Linked DNA regions of Homo sapiens: region 2 is linked to region 1. The links are contacts of gene promoters, found by promoter capture Hi-C in human tissues and cell types (Jung and others, 2019). All regions are on one chromosome and are shown on one strand. Each heading gives the region's core, a stretch centred on a gene start or on the middle of the fragment in contact. The rest is flanking DNA. Distances are from core to core; before and after follow the strand shown.

What was found. Contacts are between HindIII fragments. The study calls those that stand out against the background at their distance.
Region 2: a contact is called between a fragment that was not itself captured here and the fragment with the promoter of RTP1 in region 1, in 2 of the 25 tissues and cell types used here (spleen and stomach).

Annotation. Positions count from the first base shown.
Region 1 is chr3:187,194,889-187,202,625 of GRCh38, forward strand. RTP1 (receptor transporter protein 1) reads left to right here and starts at 2,598. Exons shown (of 2, transcript NM_153708.3): 1 at 2,598-2,899; 2 at 4,663-6,574. The coding sequence starts at 2,628. The coding sequence ends at 5,182. LOC101929106 (a long non-coding RNA gene) reads right to left here. Exons shown (of 5, transcript NR_110052.1): 3 at 4,340-5,225; 4 at 3,639-3,814; 5 at 2,202-3,142. The HindIII fragment of the contact is 12,407 bases long and covers 419-7,737 here.
Region 2 is chr3:187,530,173-187,537,909 of GRCh38, forward strand. It overlaps LOC105374262 (a long non-coding RNA gene), which reads right to left and starts at 5,772. Exons shown (of 6, transcript XR_007096211.1): 1 at 5,666-5,772; 2 at 5,114-5,200; 3 at 1-45. The HindIII fragment of the contact is 4,379 bases long and covers 2,421-6,799 here.

The DNA of each region.
Region 1 (7,737 bases), core at 1,348-3,847:
CACCATTGCTTCATTAAGTTTGGCAGTAGAGGCAGCATCCCCAGCAGTAGCAGGGAGCCTGGTGGGTCAAGTACAACTCACCCCTCTTCTGGGGAGATGTGGCCTCAGTGTGGGGGGGCCCCAGTGAACCATTTGCTGAAATGATATAAACTTCATTTGCAATTCTTGGGGTCTGTAACGGCCACGTGAGTGATGAAGAAACACACATTTAATTAGCAGATGTTATGTTCTAGATTCCACGCTGAGCATCACAATGGCTAAAGCTGGGGCTTTGTAGACAGTCATATAGGTTTAAGTCCCAGTTCAACTAGTTATTAGCTGTTAAATCTTGTGCAAGTTATCTAACCTCTAGACTTTAGCTCACATATCTGTAAAATGGAGCTGCTGCTGCTGTTACCTACCTGTCAAGTTTGTTATTGAATGAAATAAATTAATATTTATAAAGCACCAGAACAATGCTTTCTAAGCACTTACCAGGTAAGTGCTGTATAGTGATTGCTATATAGTAAGTGCTATATGGTGATTGCTGTTACTATGCAAATTAAAATTATATTCACATAAAACATTAACACGTATTTTTTACTAGGATGAAAAGATACAGATTATATACATTAGAATTGCTACCTATGAGTCTATATGGAAATTTTTTTTTTTTTGTAAAAGCAGCCAGGCACGGTGACTCATGCCTGTAATCCCAGCACTTGGGGATGCTAAGGTAGGCAGATCACCTGAGGTCAGGAGTTTGAGACCAGCCTGGCCAACATGGTGAAATCCCATCTCTACGGAAAATACAAAATCAGCCAGGTGTGGTGACGCATGCCTGTAATCCCTGTTACTTGGGAGGCTGAGGCAAGAGAATCACTTGAACTTGGGAGGTGGAGGTTGCAGTGAGTCGAGATTGTGCCATTGCACTCCAGCCTGGGCAACAGAGCGAGACTCTGTAACAACAACAACAACAACAACAACACCACAACCAGGCAAGCCATTCTAAAGCCCCTGCTTTTAATCACAGCAGATACTGTTTTGTTATTATCCCACTGAGAAGATGAATAAACTGAGGTTAAAATAGTGTAAATCAAGGCATCAAACATCCATGAAGCGGCAGGAGAAGCACTTGGAAGATGGTTTCTGGTATCAGATGGGTGATTTTAAGTCCCTCTTTTTCATCACTAAACTTCAAGATCTGCTGGCTGTCCAAAATTCATACTGTTTGAAGAGCCTGCTCAGATTCTGCTAGCCACACCAAGCTTTTGGAGAGAGTGGAGTCAAGAGACGTGTTTTCCAATTGTAGGAAGTGTTGTTTCTAATGCATGCGATGAGCTTCGTCAACAAGTTTATACAAATAGATGGGAAGAGTGTAATGTGAGAAACTGAAATAAAACCAAAATGCCCTAAAAGACAGGATTGGCTAAATAAATTATGCCTATCCATATAACAGAATATAGGTAGCCCATAATGTACTACTACGGAATATGACCTAGAAAAATATTCATGACGTATTATTTTTTGAAAATGTCACAATGTGGTATATAGAATGTATGTGGTGTACAGAATGTGTGTGTATATACACACACATACACTTGTACATGTACAGAAAAATGGTAAGCGGGATGTACATATCGTAATGTTAACAGTAGTCATCTCGGGTGGGGTTTTATGGAAGAGTCTTACTTCTCTTTTCTTTCATCTATATTTTGTATTTTTTCTAGAATAAACCCATATGATTTTTTAAAAGGAAAAATAATTTATTAAAAATAGCAGCAGAGGCATGTATAGTAAAGGCTGTTTTGCCTGTGGGTGGTGCTCCTCTTCTGCGCTTCTATAATCAGCTTGGAAATAATCTTGTCTGCTCCTGCCTGGCTGATGCAATGCTCCTACCTTTGTGCACAGGTGGCTGTTCTTGCACAAGGCCATTGCAGCATGGATCCTATTGCACAGTTATTCAGTACACAGTCAGCTACAAGCACTGACATAGAGCTTGGCACATGTCTGCAAACCCTACCCACATGCTCGGATATGTTTGAAATGAATGAATTAATGAACCGGTCTGGGGTCAACAGCTTGAATTTGTATACAGGCTCCGCCATTTATAGGCTAGGTGAGTCCTAGGCTCCTGATCTGTACTGCAGCAATAGTAATCATAACTTAAGAGACCTCCAATTGTGTTTTGAAAATGGCAAAGTGCTGGTCACAAGATGGCTGGGGAAGCCGAGAGAGAGTTTATTATTATTGCTCCATCTACTAACAAATTTACATCTCCCCATCCCTCATTTCTCCTTGGCTGCCTAAGGCATCATGGTTACCGTAGCAGCCAGATGCTGATGATGCCTCCAGGGGACGGCAAGGTGAAACTGAGCCAGTTCCCAGTCCTCACCTCCCCATACTCTTTCCAGGCCAGGGTGAGATGGTCTGAAGCTCAATCTCTGGTCAGGTCCCCCACTCTGTCTTGGATCATTTAGACCCACAAACTCTGCCTCTGCAATCTCAGTTCAGGGCCTTGAAACACCTCTTCAGAGACTCCCTCCTCCCCAAGCTCTGTCTTCTGGCAACCTGCCTGGTTGCCGTGGAAACAGGTTCCACTGCGGACAAAGGAGGGAGCTGGGTCCTGCTTCCTCCTGGTCTTGTCGATGAGGATTTTTAGACCGTGGAGACTGCGCTGCCCTGCCCTGCACCTACCCTCACTCTCCGTGTTCTCACTAAGGTGGAAATTGCCTTCCCTCACTACTGACGAGACCATGTGTAAAAGCGTGACCACAGATGAGTGGAAGAAAGTCTTCTATGAGAAGATGGAGGAGGCAAAGCCGGCTGACAGCTGGGACCTCATCATAGACCCCAACCTCAAGCACAATGTGCTGAGCCCTGGTTGGAAGCAGTACCTGGAATTGCATGCTTCAGGCAGGTGAGTAGCCCAGGAAGGTGGATCCCTGCAGGCCGCCTCTAGGTCCCTAGCTCTGGGGCACCTTCCAAGGAGAGGAAGATTACGTAGAACCCAAGTGTTTAGCTTCAATCTCACTATTAGGCTGGCGTAGACTGGAAGTCAGAGAAAGAGTCCCTAACTGGGAACTACGACACTTGAGTTGGATTTCAGCTCTTCTACTGATCACCTGTGTTACTCTTCCTCTCTGAGTCACAATTTTTCCGTCTGGAAAATAAAGACATAGAATATACGTATGAGTCCTACACACTGACATTTTACATATTTTCTATTTTAACAGTCTCTTAAAAAGTAGTTTAAAACCAGAGAAGAAGGGTTTGAGGCCCACTGGGGGTCGAGACGTCCGTGCTCTGGTCCTGGGACCGGTTTAAATCTATTTAACTCAACTTAATTTCACTTAAAATATTGAATACATGAGATGTGCCAGAAACTGGCTCTATCATTGGCTCCATGGCTGTTGAGGAACTCGATTTTCTTCTTGGACCTGGCTTTCTCCTTTTGCACAGTGAGAGGTTAGCCTGTGGTCCACAGAGCAGCAGGATCGGCATCACCTGGAATTTGTTAAGAAAGCAGAATCTTGGGCCCCTTTTAGATCTGAATCAGAATCTGATTTCAAGAAGAGTTCTAGGTGATTAGTATGTAAAAACTATCTGAGATGAATTTCTAGCACTCTTGTTCATGGGTCCAGAGTGTAGGGGCTTACCTTTGAGACATAAGATGGGGAGGCTGAGTGGTGCAGCCTGGAAGTCAGAAGCAAGGCCTTCCTGCTTGCCCTGGTTCAGCCAATTCACTTCAATTCAGGAAACATTACTGGGCACCTGTTACGTGCTGGGCGCCGGTTCTGCCTCTAGCTGTGTGTACATGGATGCCTCTCTCACTCTGTCTCAGCATAAAAGAAAACATTAATTAGGTGATTTCCAGGTCCCTCTAGTTACGACATTTTTCAATCCAGGTTTTGTAGTCTGGTCTGAGAGAGGAAACAGTCCCCAAAAGATGTGTGAACAAGAAGAGAATGAAAATGTGAAGCTCCTAAACTGGCTGACAGGAGGGGTGTCAAGGGCTGGACACTTACAGGCAGGATCAGGAGCTTCTTGAAGACCTGGAAGGCTGTGGGGGCTGAGTGGGGAGGGCTTGTGGCTGCCCCAGACCTGGCTGGGGACCTGTAATCCCCAGCTGGCCCCAGTCAGGCCTGGGAGACTACAGGCCTTGGGGATCTGGGCACAGACTGCCTCCACCTCCAGGCCTTGTGATGCATTAACTCTGACACTGGCCTGGACGTTGATAGCTAGTAATGGTGTCATTTTCTCCTAATTTGGATCTAGCCTGTTCACAGTCAGTGTTAACAGATAGAAATGTGCAGATGGATTATGTGTTTCTTATCTGGTGTGAGAAGGAAGGACTCACCTAGTGCACCAAGCGCATTTTGCCCATGAGGAATAAGAATGACGCCCAATGCTGGGGTGGTGGGAGTTAGGCCTCTGGAAAGCACTGAGGAGGTAGAGCACTGCTGGATGCCCGGTGACATCCTGAGGAACCTGCTGTAGTCCTAGGGGCACTTGCAAGGCTGAGTGGCTTCCTGGGGAAAGCTAATGAACCCAGGGCGCCGGCAACACACTTCCTCCACCTCCAGGCTCTGCTTAGCCTCCACGTCCCCTCACGCCATTCCTAGGGCTGTTTCCACCACCTCCGCCCGTCTTCTATTCCTCCCTCTCCTCCCGTCTCCGCAGGTTCCACTGCTCCTGGTGCTGGCACACCTGGCAGTCGCCCTACGTGGTCATCCTCTTCCACATGTTCCTGGACCGCGCCCAGCGGGCGGGCTCGGTGCGCATGCGCGTCTTCAAGCAGCTGTGCTATGAGTGCGGCACGGCGCGGCTGGACGAGTCCAGCATGCTGGAGGAGAACATCGAGGGCCTGGTGGACAACCTCATCACCAGCCTGCGCGAGCAGTGCTACGGCGAGCGTGGCGGCCAGTACCGCATCCACGTGGCCAGCCGCCAGGACAACCGGCGGCACCGCGGAGAGTTCTGCGAGGCCTGCCAGGAGGGCATCGTGCACTGGAAGCCCAGCGAGAAGCTGCTGGAGGAGGAGGCGACCACCTACACCTTCTCCCGGGCGCCCAGCCCCACCAAGTCGCAGGACCAGACGGGCTCAGGCTGGAACTTCTGCTCTATCCCCTGGTGCTTGTTTTGGGCCACGGTCCTGCTGCTGATCATCTACCTGCAGTTCTCTTTCCGTAGCTCCGTATAAGATTCCGTGGTTGGGCCCAGAGCCTGTCGAGGGTGCCAGTTAGCTGATGCGAGGGTAGAGGAGAGACGTGGGTTGAGAATAGTGTAAACTTCTAGCGCTGGTGATGTCACTGACTCAGTGGGGATCTTGGACAAATTATACAGTTTTTCCATCTATAAAACTCAGGGTTTGGGCAAGATCATTGGTTTATCATAGTGAAACCCAGGACCCCAAAGTTCTGCGTAGGTGCCTCAGGGACTTTTGGATTTGGAAAGTAGGCTAAGCTAGTGGGTGTCTCCAACTCCTGATCTAAACACCCATCCTCCAACTCCTACCTCCTCCTCTTGCTTCGATCAGAACAGCTTTACTTTAGATAGGGTTCCATTTAAGATTTTTGTACCAAAAAAAAAAAAAAAAAAAGTTTAACTACTTTTAAAAAGTTTGAAAATTAGAGGACTGGGTGATCTCAAAAGGGCTTTCCACAGTAATGAGCTCGACCTTGCTCTTATTAGTCCCTCACCCCTGCCCCTCATGATCTCCCACTTTCTCTAGCTGCAGCCTTAAATTAGCTTCTTTGCCCACCCTGTGAGCCTCATCCGTGATTCTGCCTTCACACACGCAGCAGAGGTTTCCCTTGAAGTGCAAGAGGTGGGAGATCAGGCTGTTCCTTTGCTGCCAGGTACACAGGGTCTCTTTTTTTTGTTTCTCAGATTCCAGCTTCTTTCCACTCAGGGCAGATTCTGGGGTCTGCCTGCCTGAAAGATGGTGGTTGGGGTGGGGTCTCATAGAGTTAGGCTTCTCACCCACTGCGTATTAACTGGCAGAGAATTTAGGGGAGGTTCAGAAGACAGAGTTTTAGAAGCAAAGCACAAAATCTCTGGGAGGCATTATAATGGAGGGTCTTCAGAGTTCGGGGACCAAGTCTAGCAGATTCTCAGCAGTGCTGATGGCCAGAATTCAGGAGCAGGGGCCTGGCCTCCTGGGTTCTTTGCTGAAATTATAGTTGAATGGCTTTCTCACATTGGCCAAGCATGAGGCCTCTTGCCAAAGATCAGCTGTCCCCCTAAAGCCACAGGGATGGGGTATCTTCAGCAAGAGAGAGGGCGTTAAAGATGTAAAATGCTTTGTCCATGGGGAAGTGCACAGATATGTGGGAGAACCTTACAAGGCTCTAAAATGAGATGTGATATGGCTTGAAATGGGAGGAGACACTTTCTGACAGTGGGGGGTCTGGAATGGAATTGGTGGGGACAGGCAGCAAGCTGCACTTTTGAGGGGCCTCATTTACCCCACCTCTGTTAAAAACTTGACTACTCTCCTCTTTAATAGAAAGTCACCATCATCTGTAGTGATGGAGGAAGGGGGTCACTTATATAAAGATGGGACACTTTAATAAAGACAGGATATCTTCCATAAGGCTTAGTAGTCATTAATGTGTGTTTGAGATTCCCCCACTGTCCCAGATCTGTAATGAGCTATTGGTCCCCTCCATCCCGCCACCCTGTCTCCCCTTTTCTCCCTTCTGCCCCCTGACCCCACTGCCACATAAGGCTCTATCTAGCTCCAGTTTTTGGCCAGTCTCGTCCACAGTCAGGAGGGATGGAAGTCAGTCATTCAGGGGATCAGCATAAGGTCAGTTTTACTCCTATCCTGGCTCGAATTCAAGTAAGCAGCGATGGCTTCCTTTACTTCATTCACAGAGTATTTATTTCTTCATCTAGTCCGCATATCCTGAACACCTGCTATCTAGCAAGTCCTGATTTACTTGCTAGACAGTAGGTGTTCAGAATATGCAGACTAGAGGAAGAAATGAATACTGTGGGTGCAGCGGAATATAGGGGGTGCTCTCTGGTTTCTCAGACATCTCTGCTTGCTACAGAAGTTTTCAGCCCTGGCTGTACTTCAGAAATTCTGGGGAGATTTTAAAGAAATATAAGTACTTAGCCTCTACCCCAGACCAATGGGATCAAAATTTGGGGGAAGTGGGACCTGAGCATCTGAATTAGAATAAAACACCCAGGTGATCGACCTGTACTGCCTGGTGTAATGCCTTCTAACTGAGGGATAGACTTCCTTTTGCATCTAGTTTTATGAAAAATGAGCCCTGAGATCTTCCTTGATGATTTGCCCTGGATTCTTTAGGACTGGGGCTCGGCTTCCCTTTCTCTAGCTGCCCTACTCACCCCCAGCCTGTGCTCTGGGGAGTTCACCGTCCCTCACACTCCCTTGCTCCTGCAGGTTTGCTGCTACAATGGCTGTGTTCTGCTCTGAGAGTCTTTGTCACTGAGCTCTGCCACCCTTGCTGGGACACTCATAAAACTTGTTATAATTACTCATCCCTGCTAGGATGTAAGTTCCAAAAAGCATAGACTCCATGGATTTCATTCACCTCTATTGAATGCATAACAAATGTTCAATAAAAATGTATTGAATGAATAAATGAACCAATAAGCTGAGCCATCTCCAGCCAGATCCTCACCTCTCTAGCATATTATGCTTGTGACGATATTCGGAGTCTCCTTCTCACTTCACCACTCATTCTTTCTATGTCTTGAACTTACATATCCCAGAGCAAA
Region 2 (7,737 bases), core at 3,360-5,859, 340 kb after region 1:
ATTATGGCTCAGTGAAGACCAGAAATGCTTCTTAGCTGACAAAAACTTCGAAATCCATGTTGAATGCCAAAAAGGGGTGGAGAGAAATAAATAGAAATAATTACTATTTCCCTGATTCCTGTAAGTTCCACGGTTCTACCACCCAACTACTGCTCAGCCCGTGGGCCACACAGCACTGTTGACAGTGAATTAGAGTATCAAAATCCAGGAGGGGAGGAACCAGAGAGGTCAGCCTACTGCAGTGATAAGATCACCCCTAAATCCACAGCAGTGGTAATGCTGACAAGACTAGGGGTCCTGTGGTCCTACTCCTCATTTCACAGATGAGAAAAGAACTCTATTGGTTGTGTTGCAAGAGTCACCTGCCCAGTTCACAGAACAAGTAATTAGCAGAGAGGGAAAACAGACCTCCAAAGCCAGGATGCTTTTCTCTCCATCACACAGCCTCCTGGGAGTGTTGTATTAGGATTTTTCATATAAAGTCTCTACTGTAAAGAATGGTTGACTGGAATCCCTCTGAGTAGACATTCAGATAATGTTTTATGTGAGAAATATTTATTCAGAGTTTTCTTTTTTAGCCAATCCTAGCAACACCAGCTAGATAGCCACTTAAGCCACCTATACATACTAATCTGTCTCTTGACTGTGAAAACATTAACATTCTGTATACTAATCAGGAGTCAAAATCATGATCAGCATTCATTAGTACTTTTTTCCAGTTCAATGCACTGAAGAAAGACATTGTACTGTTACATCAGTTTACCTGGTTGATTCTTAGGATCTGTCAAATGCTTGCAGATAAAGACTTAATCATATAAGAATTGTAATTTGGCTCTTCTCAGAATTACATTCCATTTTGATAGACATCATAGATATGTACTGGAAATAAATGTTCTGTTTTCATAGTGTTAGATTATTTTGCTTCTTTCTTTTTCTACTGCTTTTTACTGGGGAAATATATAGCAAAGACATTCAGTTATTTTCCCTTAAATAAACCTGATAAAGATCAGTTTGGACAGAGTTTTCTTGGACAGGTACTTTCTTCAACTGGAAAGAGAAGCTGGGCTTGAACACCATTTCTGATGTTGATTTGACCCTGAGAAAGCTATGTAATATTTCTTAGCCTTAGTTTCTTGACCTTTTAGTTGAGGATAATAAAACATGCTTTATTTAGGGAGGGATGGGCTGATAAGTTTAAATGAGATCACATTTACAAAAGGGCATTATAATATGTGAGATACATAGTAAGTGATCAATGGCTGCTTAATGTTACTAAATGTGCTAAGTGATCAATATGTGCCAGGCACTGTGATAGGTGTGGTGGGGTTATAAGAATTAATAATGACATTAAGTTAATACTTAATGGCCATTATTTATTCCACAAATCTCTGTGAGCACCAACAATGTATCAGATACCATGCTAGGTGATGGAAAGCTCCTGCCCTCAAGTTGTTCACAGTTTTATTTGTGGAAGCAGAAGTAAATATAGTGCAATTAGCACCACCTGAATCAGTGCAACACAAGCTGAAGAACAGAGTAGGAGCACTTAATCAAGGCTAGGGAGATCAGGAAAGGCTTTACTGGGGAGGTGATGACACATTCAATAGATGAAGAAGGATAACGCTTCAAGAAGGCAGAACAATTTCTGCAAATCCTGGAAGCAAAAGAGAACATGGAACATTCAGAAATTTTCATCGTTTAATGGTCACAGTAAAAGTTGGAGGCAACAAATGATGAGAGATGAGGTTGCAGCAATAAAAAAAAAAAGAGCTGATTAAAGATCTTAAAAAGCTTCAACTTTACTTTAAAGAGAATGAAGAGACATTACTCAGATGAGTGATGTCATCAGATTTGAACCAAGGAGGTCACTATGGCATCACTGGACAATGAGTTGAGTGGATGTGGGAGGACCAGGAGGCACTGTTGAGCTACAGCTAAAAAATGGGAGGGAATTAGCTAAGGTGGCTGGTAAGAAAAAGGAGAGAAATTGACAGACTCAAGAGAAGTTTGAAAACCGTTAGTCACACAGTGGAATTGGAAGAGTCAAGCTGAGTCTCAGGTTTCAGTGTGATATAGCAGGTGCATTTTTGTGCCACTCACCTAGAAGAGGACCCAGGAAGAGAAAAGTTGGATGAAATGGGAGGTAGGAAAGAGGGTACAAGATCCAGGGATGCTAGGCTCTGAATCTGGAAACAGCCGTCATAGCTGAAAGTCTGTTTCTATAGAGAATAGGTCTAAAAGAGGACCATGTGTGGATCCCATGCGCACTGCCTAAAGCAGGGATCACCTGCCTATGGGATAGGGTAAAACAAGATGACACTGAGTGTGGCCTCCAGAGGGTTCTGTGTATCTGCAGGAGTAGGAAGCCAGGAACACTCAGATACAGGTTTACATCCTGGAAATTAACCAACCTGACCTCAGGATAAGTGGCCAGGTCTGCAACATATGTTGTACCTGTTGGTAGAAGTAACATGGAACCACCAACATAAAACATGGATTGCTGGGTCTGATAGAGGAAACTACACAATCATAGAAAGAGAGAAATAATCCAGATTAAAGGTGTGATTTTTCCCTTAAGGACTTGTACGTAGTCAGGTTCTGTTGGTGACACATTCTTTCAGCTTTCATTGTTTCAGAAGGTTTCATTTCTGGGTGTAGAAATGGACATTGACTTCTCCATCCCACTCCACTGCCTTCTGGCTTATGTCATCTTCAACAAGAAATCTGCTGTAATTTTTATCCTTGCTCCTTTCTGTATAATGTCCCTGTATTCTCTGGTTGCTAATATTTTTAAATTTTTATGTGCTTTTCACCAATTTGATTATGATTTGCGTGTGTGCGTGTGTGTGTGCGTGTGTGTTTAATAGTCTGCCTGGGGTTCACTGAAACACGTAATCCGTAAACTTATAGTTTTAACCAAATTTGAGGGGAAAACCTTTAGCTGTTCTTTCTTCAGATCTTTTTATGTGTCATTCATCTTTCTCTTCTTTTTCTGTAACTCCAATTTACTTATCTTAGAAAACTTTATATTATCCTACACTCACAGAAGCTTTGTCCACTTGTTTCAGTCTTTATTTTTCTATATGTGCTTCATTTTGGATGGTTTCTATTGCTATGTTTTTAAGTTTACTGTTTTTTTCCTGTGGTGTCTAAATGGTTCTGAATCTCATCTAGCGTATTTTTCATTTTTGATATATTTTTCATCTTAAAAGTTTCATTTAGATATTTTAAAAATATCTTGTATTTTATCATGTTTATGTTTTATTATATATCTTTTTGAATATTTATAATAGCTATTTCAAGTTCCTTGTCTGCTATTACCTTTATTAATGTCATTTCTGAGTCTTTTTCTATTGATTTATTTCTCTCCTTATTATGGGTTATATTTTCATGTTTCTTTTTTGCATGCTGGGAAATTTTTTATTGGATGTCAGGTCTCATGTATTTGTTGGTTTTGTGATTTAGTTGTATTTCTTTAAAGAGTGTTGGTCTTTGTTATGGCACACAGTTAAATTACTTGCAGATTGGTTCGATTATTCTGAATCCTTCTTTTAAGCTTTGTTACAATGGGTACAGATCAGCATTTACTCTGGCATTAATTTAGCCTTACTACTACAGCATGTCCTTTCAAAGGCTCTACCAATACCTCATGTCCAGCCTTAGGAGTTTCACCCAACGTATGCGCAGGTTAATGTTCAGGATTTGAGGGGATCCTCCTGTAGCTCTCAAGTGCTTTCTGTTTCTCTCTGTGCCTTCCTTATCTCTGGTCCTCTGCTCCACCACACATTCCTAACGTGAGTGATACCTGGGGAGCGCTGAGGGTGGAGGGCATGAGAAAATAAGGAAAGGAAGCTGTGTTCCATGCCTGGGGCAATCCGAAGCTGAGCCAGGACATCTTGTGTACAATGACAAGACAAACTACAAACTATGCTAACTTATCTGAATTTATCTTGAGTAGATTCAGAGGCATAGGCAACTAAAGATAGCAGAAATCATCATCCTTCCTCCTCCCATAACCGGTGAATAAGGTGGAATGTATCAGTCTCACTGCATGTAGTGTGGGACAGGAGTCTCTTCATTTGAATATCAAAAACTAGAGACTCTAAGCTGACATTTGGGTCACAGGGAGGAACCAGGGGACAGGAAGAGATTGGTGAGATGGGAAAAGAAAAATAAGGACCTAGAAAAGGAAATAAAATTCATGTCTGGAAGGGAATTATTGAATTAGCCTCATGAAGAATATTATTTCAAAAATGAGCCTTAAGAAGATAGAAAATATAATTAAGGAAAGATTGATGGGAAAGTTTCCTGGGTTAAGGAAGCAGCTTGAGAAAATTCACAGAAGGACATCTAAGGTAGAGTCGGAGAACAGAGACAGGTGAGTTCACCTTATTTGTTAGGTATAATGAAAATATTGAAATATAAGTCCTGAAAAAGAGTTTTGGACAGTACTATGAATGCCTTGATTTGGCAACATGAGTAGGTTATACTTGATTCATAGGAAATGGAGAATCTTTAAAGGATTTCAAGTGAGCATTGTTGCTTCCAAAGAAATTAACTTCCCCTAATGGGGAATAAAAGAGGAGGAAAATAGTCTTTTAGTCAAATGGCCATTTATTCACCAAACCATAAGGACTCTTTGCTACCTAGAAACTGTATACTTGGTCTTAATAAAATGGATCTTAATAATAATAATACTTATTCTCCTATAGCAATTTACTTTGCAGATTGCCTTTGGAGCGAAATCTCATTTGATTTTTGCAAAAAAAAAAATTATTGGACTGAGATTCCCAATTTCCTATTGAAGATGAGAAAACTGAGGCTCAAAGAAAATTAAGAGATGTCTAACTCCAGACATCTGCTTAGATATTGTTAGCCCTAAAATCAGAACCAGCTTATGACTGCCCCATACAACTCATTTTATTTCTTTAGCTCAGAAGAATGGAAAGGAAAATAGTATGTTGAGTTTTTAAAGATGTTAGGACTTTTATTTCTAGCATAAGGCATAAAACAAAGGCTTATTTCAACTCCAGAAGATGGTACTAACACCTGGGAGGAGTTATTTATTGAGAAGACATTTCTTTATATTCATAGCCTAAGCCCCACTACTTACGTTCCCATGCAATGAGAGTTTGATGACAAGACATTGATTTAAGGAAGTGTGATGTGACTCCTCCACCCTGTGTCACTCCTTGTCCACCTGAAAAGTACCATAATAAATCGTATCAAAAGAAACCTTTTCTTTTGTGGTGCTTAAAGAAAAGGAGAGGAAACTGAATGTATCAGGCTTGGTGCTCAGTAAGACAGAAATAACTCTTGACTTAGTCAATTTTCTCTAAGGCGTATAGCAATCTATGGTTGCCCAGCTGAGGGCCAAGATTTTAAATAAAATTCTCACATTTGGACTGCCCACCAGTCTGAATATGTATCTATGTCTACACCCAGAAGACTTGTAAACTCAGGATTTTATAAAGGCAAAAGATAATTTGATCAAGATTGACCAAACTAAGTCAAAGAAATACAAAACTATTTCCTTTTTCTCTATGGTTGACCGAAATGTAAATCTGAATACAAAGAGGTTCTGGCATTCATTTCTGATTGCCTCATCACCAAGAAATGGGTAATAGTGTGGCTAAGAGAAGTTAGTTTGTCCCGATGCTGCTACCTCTAGAATAATTCATGCTGTAATAATCCTTTTGGTGTTCCCTGGACTGTCCTCTGCCACACATGGGGCAATAAAATGATCAAGTTCTGGCTGGGCGCGGTGGCTCACGCCTGTAATCCCAGCACTTTGGGAGGCCGAGGCGGGTGGATCACGAGGTCAGAAGATCGAGACCATCCTGGCGAACATGGTGAAACCCCGTCTCTACTAAAATATAAAAAAAATTAGCCGGGCGTGGTGGTGGGTGCCTGTAGTCCCAGCTATTCAGGAGGCTGAGGCAGGAGAATGGTGTGAACCCGGGAGGTGGAGGTTCAGTGAGCTGAGATTGCGCCACTGCACTCCAGCCTGGGCGACAGAGCGAGACTCCGTCTCAAAAGAAAAAAAAAAAAAAAGATCAAGTTCTTCATAACAGGGAGGTTCGTTTCAGTTAGCAGAAATAGTCCTAAGTTTTGCTTATAGATTTGTTCAAGTGTTTTGTTTAGGAAGCTTTGATTCCGTCTAATATTTTAAAATAAAATCCATGACAATAATTAGTTTTTATGTGGGAATGACGTCACAATGGTGGTTTCTGAGAACAATGGCTCAGTGCCCCTGTGTCCTGACAGCATCCATGCCTGTGTGCTGGGCCCTATGCCCATGAGCTCTGCCCAGTTGCTGCTTGAAGAGAAAGGGGTTGTACCCCTCATAATTTTAGCAGAAAAAAAATTTTTTTGATTATGCTTGAGCTGAATATCTTTTCTTCATTTGGCAGCACTGTGTTCTATAATACACAGCTTCTGCGTCACCAGGAAATCCTCCGTGGTTACGGCAGTTTGGGGCATGTGCAGTCTCATGTGGCCCATAGTGTCACAGTACCTCATTTAACCTGCACAGTTCCCATTTCCGCAGAGATAAAAATTGAACCCGAGAGGTATCAATGACAGGGATATGTTCTGGGAAATGTGTCATTAGGTCAGCAGTCCCCAACCTTTGTGGCACCAGGTACCGATTTCATGGAAGACAATTTTTCCATGGATGAGTGGTCTGGGTGGTGCGGGTGGTGGGGGGATGGTTTCGGGATGAAACTGTTCCATCTCAGGTCATCAGGCGTTAAATTCTCGTAAGGAGCCGCAACCTAGATCCTTCATGTGTGCAGTTCACAATAGGGGTAGGCGTTGAGCTCCTGTGATTATCTAATGCCGCCCCGATCTGACAGGAGGCAGAGCTCAGGTGGTAATGCTCGCTCACCTGCTGCTCCCCTCCTGGTGTACAGCCTGGTTCCTAACAGGCCACAGACCCATACCTGTCCGTGGCCCGGGGGTTGGGGACCCCTGCATTAGGCGAGTGCATTGTTGTGCAAATATTATGATGTCCTTACACAAACCTAGATGGTATAGCCTACCACATACCGAGGCTCTATGGTACAGCTTATTGCTCCTACAAACCTACAACCCTGTACAGCATGTTACTGTGCTGAATACTGCAGGCAATTGTAGCCCAATCGAAAGTATTTGTGTATCTAAACACATCTAAACATAGAAAAGGTATAGTAAAAATACAATATAAAAGATAAAAACTGCTGCACCTGTACAGGGCGCTTACTATGTATGGAGCTTGCAGGACTGGAAGTTGCTCTGGGCGAGTCAGTGAGTGAATGGTGAGTGAATGTGAAGGTCTAGGCCATTGCTGCACACTACTGTAGACTTTATAAACACTGCACACTTAGGCTACATTACATTTATTTAAAATTTTTAATTTCTTCAATAATAAATTAACTTTAGCTTATTGTAAATTTTTAACTTTCTAAAGCTTTTAACTTTTATTAACTTTTTAACTCTTCTAAAAACAGTTTAAAACACAGCCACATTGAAGAGCTGCATGAAAATATTTTTATGTCCTTTTTATATGAGCTTCTTTCTATTTATTATTTTCTATTTTTGTTTAACTCTTTAAATTTTTTTTGTTAGAAGCTAAGGCACAGATACACATATTAGCCTAGTCCTACACAGGGTCAGGATCATCAGTGTCTATCTTCCACCTCCACATCTTGTCCCGCTGGAAGGTCTTCAGGAGCAACAGCAGGCATGGAGTTGCCA